Linked DNA regions of Homo sapiens: region 2 is linked to region 1. The links are contacts of gene promoters, found by promoter capture Hi-C in human tissues and cell types (Jung and others, 2019). All regions are on one chromosome and are shown on one strand. The core of a region is centred on a gene start or on the middle of the fragment in contact, and the rest is flanking DNA. Distances in the headings are between cores, read along the strand shown. Region 1 holds the start of KCNA4 (potassium voltage-gated channel subfamily A member 4). Region 2 has its middle 43 kb from the start of LINC01616.

Region 1 (3,034 bases), core at 298-2,797:
GTGTGTGTGTGTGTGTGTGTGTTTGTTTGTGTGTGTGCGCACGCGCTCGCGTGTGTGGGAGTGGGGTGGAGATGGACAGCAAAACCCTTTTTTTTTTTTTTTTTTTTTTAAATGGAGGTGGGCAGTGGGAGAGATCACTAAGATAGAGTCCTCCCGGGAGCCAAACCTCTCGCCCGGTTGATTCTGGCAAGCCTGAGACAGGCAAACTGTCTACTTTCCTGTTTTGATGTGGTCCGAAGAAATAAACAAGAAACAAGGAGAGACCCTTCCTCAAACTGTAACTCCAGCCAATTAGCATGAAAAGCTCAAGAAGCTATTAACCAGAAGTTTCGGCTTTAGGGGACCAGGGACTTGCCCGAGGCCCTGGCATGCGCGGCGGCTAGGTTTAACTTTCAACTCATAGTGACCTTTTCCTTAATTTAATGCAAAAAATCTTTCCCAGAGGTGGAGATTTAAGATGCTAATGATACATACGTCCTATGAAGAAGCATGTTAAACCACCATGCATGCACCAGAAAAACTCCACCTCTACATGCCCTGTCTATAGTTCTCCTTATTTCCCCTTACGGGAGAGGCCCGTAAAAGAAACCCACACCCTGACTTCGAGGAACAGCCCACTTTTTTTTTTCTTGGTGTTAGCTCCCTTGTGCGCACAAGCTTTAATTAAAAGAAAGAAAGAAAGAAAACCAAAAAAACTTGCTTTTTGCTGCGATATCCCTTGATTTCTGTCCTGAAGGATCCAAAGAGCCCTCAGGGAGTCGATACCAGAGCCGTATTTGTTTTTGCAGCAACAGGTTGGCTGCGGGCTCTTCCCCCGCCTTCCAAAGCCCTCAGCCCCTGGCCCACCCTGCAACTTACTCATCTCTCCAACCCTCCTCCCCTAGAACTGCTGCCTCCTGTGCGCAGCCCCTAGCCTGGGCCTGATTCCAATTTCTGTAACATTCCCCTGCCCGGGATTGAATACAGGTTGAAAGTCGGTCTCCTCCGCGCCCCTGAGGCCCAACCCCGGCGCTGAAGCCTCCCAACTCCTGTGTGCAAAGGAGACGGAGACTGAGGGATCTGGGCGCTCTGGCAGGCACAGGAGGGCTCCCCGCCCGTGGCCTCGCCGGAGATGCACCCGGCTCCCAACCCAACAAACCCGCTTTGGGAGGGGATGGGGTGGGGAAAAGAAGACGGGGCTCGGGGCTCGAGGGGAGATATAGAGAAAGCAAGTTAGGTAGAGGAGATGTCCCAGAGGACCCCATTTTCGGGACTGCACCTCCCATTGGAGCTCCCCGCTCCCAAGCCCTCTGGGGACTCCCGCGCTGCCGTCGAAACCCCTATTCCGGCCCCAACGGGGACACTTCTCCAGGATTTGCTCCTCGCCTGTGGGGACCACAGCCAAAGACTCCTGGAATCGATCCCAGATCCTGGGAGTCGGGGGGCCCAGCCGGGGTGCGGGGAGTCGCGGCGTCGTGACTGCACCCGCCCCGCCGCGCCGGGAGGCGCCCCTGGCGACCGTCGCGAACGCCACACCCTCGGTTCGGCCCTGGCCCCGCCCCCGCCCAGAGCGCGTTCGCGGCCAGGGGAGGCGTGTGCTGCTCCCGCAGCCAGCGAGAGCGAGAGAGGGATGGATGTTGGAGGAGGAATTCGGGCTTAACAAGTGATCGCTGCTGTCTAGGATTTTGTTTCTTTTCGGGGGAACCTTGACTTCCTTTCCCAGGCAATCCCTCCTGTGCTGAACTCCAGAGGAACCAGGAGTCTTGGGGTCTTCTCTGGGGCAGCCCCAACCCCCACCCCCAGGCTCCAGCCGCGAGGACTCTGTGCACCCCTCGGGCCAGGCAACAGAACTTGTTCCGTGGATATTTGGAGCCTCCACCTGCCAAACCCGAGTGATTCCTTTTACCACCCCCCGCCCCCCACCCAGGATCATTCTTCCCCTCCTCCAGCTGTTGCAGCTTGAGGGGGAAAAACAAGCCAGCCGGTGGATTTTCTTTATTTTTATTTTTCGCCCCGCCGGGGAACGGTAAGTATGATACCTTTTTTTTTTTTTTTTTTTTTTTGTATCTTTCCTCTACCTTCTTATTTTGGCTGTTAAGAAACAGTGGACATTTGAGGGATAAATAATATCGGGAATGTGACAGAAGGGCATGAATGGAAGGCGGTTAAAAATAAACCAGGAGGTGGGAGAAGGGAGGTGCGGATGCTGCGCGGCGCTCCGGGGGGCCAACAGTTGTTATTTTCCCAAACCCGGGGATGCGGTGAGTGCGCCCTGCTTAACGTGCTGGAGCGGGAACCGAGGTCTGGAGGCGAGGGCGCGATTAAAGATGTCGTTTCCCAACGAGAGGGGGGTTAAGATTTAGCATCGTTTCGCCTCCTCCCAGCCGCACCGGTTCCCTTCTTTTGGGAACAGCCGGTGAACGGGTCTGAATTGCTGCCTCTTCCAACGTTTGGATTTGCGTGCATTTTCCGAGCATTTGAGCAACATACATAGGGGCTGCATAAATGGCGTGCGTTGAAGTGTATATTTCTCACGGTGGTGGCTTTTCTGATTCCCTCTCTCAGTTTCTCTCTCTTTCTCTCTCTCTCTCTCTCTAAGGTTCAGGTACCACCCTGACAGTGACACAGTTGCAGGAATTAGCACTGAGAGACGAACAGCCTTGTTGTTGGAGGGGTGAGAGGAGGAGGGGCGGGATGCTTGGCTGTTGTTTGGGGGCGCCGGGATTGGGGAATAGGTAGTCTGCAAAATCCTATTAGTTTAATGGTGTTAAAGAAGAAGACAAATTCCTCTGCAAAGATCTCTCTCATAAAGGCTCCTGGGAATTGGCTTGAATAGATTCTCCTAACAAGAGTACCTTGAGAAAGAAGAGAGATTTTAAACCAGTCTGATTTGCTGGGAGGAATGATTTTTCTTTTCTCTTCTTTTCTTTCTCTCTCCCTTTCTTTCTAGATCAGGGATAGTGAAGTAACTAGTAGATGATTAAAAGGAAGGCAATTTGCTACTTGTAGGGTGGAGGAGGGAGTTAGATAAACAAAAACTAACAATCCCAAATAA
Region 2 (3,034 bases), core at 255-2,754, 77 kb after region 1:
GAACAAAATGTAATATTTGCCATTGGCACAGCTCTGAAACTAGATTAAAGAAAGACATGGAGTAAAAGACTGCACAGAGATTTAAAAAAATTTTCTATCAAGTTCAGTGTTTATTTTTTGGGGGGGAGGCATTTGTTCATACATCAAATGTTTGGTGTGCACCTAAGCACATAATAGTTCTAGTTTCTGCAAATATAATAAACTAAGTAAATGCTGTCACATTCATAGAGATTGAAAAATCATATAGTAGTAACAACCCCAATTCAAGAAAGTAACACCAGCTTAGGCTGGCAAATAAGGAACAGAGTGGAACAGAAAAATGTGGACCATACTAGAAGAAAAATGGAAACCTTGCTGAAACATTGGTCTGCTAAGCATTTTCATTAGTTCCTTAGAGAAGAGAGAGGTGAAATTTGACAGGATCACACTGTAAATCTTTTGTAGCTTGTTTTATGAGTTTTTCTTTTTCAGCTCTCTAGTAAAATGTAGGTCATTCTTATTTCACAGCGAGAACACAGTCATTCTCAACAAAACCTTTTGTGGACTTCATAAATCTCTGAATTAAATAACTTTTTCATGCATTTTTATACTTAGCTACCTGAAGTACTGGGAGTACTGACCTGACAATCTGATAGTGAAGATTCTGAGCCAAACCAGAAAGTAGTTCCTCACATACACGTGGCCTTAAGGCTCATTTTATGCTGAGTGTGTTATGTGTTGTATAGGCAGAAGCTTTGAATGTCCATGTGTTTTGGCTGGGGTCTTCTTAATCATCATCGTTGCAAAGACTGTCCCTCAATCTCCCGATCCAATTCAGCTGACCTCCCTTTGATGTTTTAAAACACCTTAGAACATACCTGTCCTAACACTGATTTCCTATTTTATGACTACCATTTGACTTCTCCCTTTTCCCAGCTAGACCGGGACTTCTCTGAAATATTAACTGTATTATTATTTCTCTATCATAAACCTGTAGCACAATATAACCACAGTTGTTACTCAATGTAGATTTTTATAAAAGAAGTAAGGAAGGAAAGAACGAAGGGGGAAAAAAACAGGTTCTGGGGCAGATATTCAGTCTGGTATTGAATCCTTCTAAACCTGCAGCTCTGACTTAGGTTGATGCTGAAAAGTCACTGTGACCCTCAGCCACCAATATCTACTTGCCAAAGCAGAAAAAGGATATCAGCAGATTTAAGAAATCTTCCTTATATTGCATTTGCTTGTTTCTTTAAAAAAAAACATTTATTGAGCAGTTATTACATTATAGATATGGGGCTCTAGATGCTGTGATACCACTGTCTGCAGCATACCTTGCAATAATGCTATAAGGTAAGTATAATTGTCCTCACTTCACCTAAAAGAGAGAGAATGAAAGCTTATAGAAGATAAAGAACTAGCCCAAGTGCACATGACTGTTAAGTATGATGGCCGAAATGTAAGTCTCCCCTTGTCCTGATTTGAGAATCCACTTAACTACCAAACCTGTGATTCTCTCTTTAGTCACATACACATTCCATTCAATCAGTGTTTCAGTGAGCTTCTAAAGGGCTGTGGAAGCTTCAAACCTACATGACTTATAGGAAGATATCATCATTATCACCTTTATGACTCTCTGTGTGGCTGCACATGGCTCTTAAATTATTTGGCTTCAGAGAAAAAACATGTGAAATAGTATCTGAGCTTTTGTGTCTGAGACTGATAGAGAGAAAGAGAAGGGGAGAGGGGACAGAGAGAAAGAGGTAGGGGAGGAAATAGACTTTATACTTCACTTTTCTCTTTGGAAATATTTACTTAAAATGAACTTAAAAACTCCTTTCCTGTCTTTTCCTTTAGCTGCATTTATAGTAGAGAAATCAATTATTGTTGTGGATAAGTGAGTCAGTGGTTAGGGGGCCAGCAGAGGTTAGATCATTGCAGTAGAAGACCTCCTGGCTCCTGAGAAGAGTCCACCCAAACTGTGTGAGTAGAGAACTCTCTGTCGCTCTCTTGTTCTCAGCAGGAATTCTCCTGTCCTCAACATTTTCCTGCTTTATGAGATCAAAAATATGGGGGTCAGATATTTCAAGACCCTGTGTTCTACACAAAGGTACTGCATTTTTCCTTTACTGCTAGATTCCTTTGTGGATAGATACATTTTCTCTTGTACTTTTAATGGAAATTCTGCAGGAAAATGTAATAGAATATATTTAGTCTGCCCTTGGTTGGTATTCAATATATATATATATATATATATATATACACACACACACACACACACATATACATATATATATACACATATACATATATATATATATAACTTTATCATTTATAAGGATGATAAAATTGACTTAACCTTTCTGTTTTTCCCAGAAGCTACTTTCTGTATATAATATGGGTAGTTTCTCCATTGGGGGGTTCGATCAACAAAGGGATATAATTCTAAGATATGAGTTTTAGAGATTCTTTTTTATCACTCTATTTTTACATTTAGCTCTTTGCAGGTAAAGCCCATGTTCAGATCTAAATCTCTCACTACAACTTACACAGGGGCTTTCCACATCCAGTGCTTACAGTTAAAATTTAATTTGGAATGAAAATGTATTAAAATTTTAAAATGATGTGGCAATTAGACGAGAAGTTATATATTTATGTGGGGGAGGGGGTGGATGGTTTGTAAAAGAGATTTTTTTTTTGTAGTATGCGAAGTTAAGTTTCTCCAGATAGAAATGGTTGGAGCTTCTGTAACCATCTTTTAAGTTTTCTAGAATTTTATGTATGTTATTTTTTATTATAAATTATAAAATAAATTATACATAATGTATAATCTTCAAATGTAGGAAGAAAATTAATCTAAAATGGAACCTTTGATGTCATGAAAAGATTTAGCATTATATCAAGCCCTGAGTTTGTTTGTTTTCTTTCTGGTAGAGAAAGAGGCAGACAATCGTGTGTAACTTGGCATTTTGGTCTGATGGCAAAACTTGGTAATAAGTTTTTCTGTTGTTGCCCGTGAAAGCTTTGATGCCTTGGTGGCTATTTTCCTCAGGGA

The links. The method cuts DNA at HindIII sites, captures the fragments that hold promoters and counts their contacts. A contact is called where the count stands out against the background at its distance.
Region 2: a fragment that was not itself captured here is called in contact with the fragment with the promoter of KCNA4 in region 1 in 4 of the 25 tissues and cell types used here (H1 embryonic stem cells, dorsolateral prefrontal cortex, liver and 1 more).

What each region holds. Positions count from the first base shown.
Region 1 is chr11:30,015,543-30,018,576 of GRCh38, reverse strand. KCNA4 (potassium voltage-gated channel subfamily A member 4) reads left to right here and starts at 1,547. Exons shown (of 2, transcript NM_002233.4): 1 at 1,547-2,005. The HindIII fragment of the contact is 10,149 bases long and covers 1-3,034 here.
Region 2 is chr11:29,938,225-29,941,258 of GRCh38, reverse strand. No RefSeq gene overlaps it. Among named protein-coding and RNA genes, the nearest start is that of LINC01616, 43 kb to the left of the region's middle. The HindIII fragment of the contact is 4,260 bases long and covers 1-3,034 here.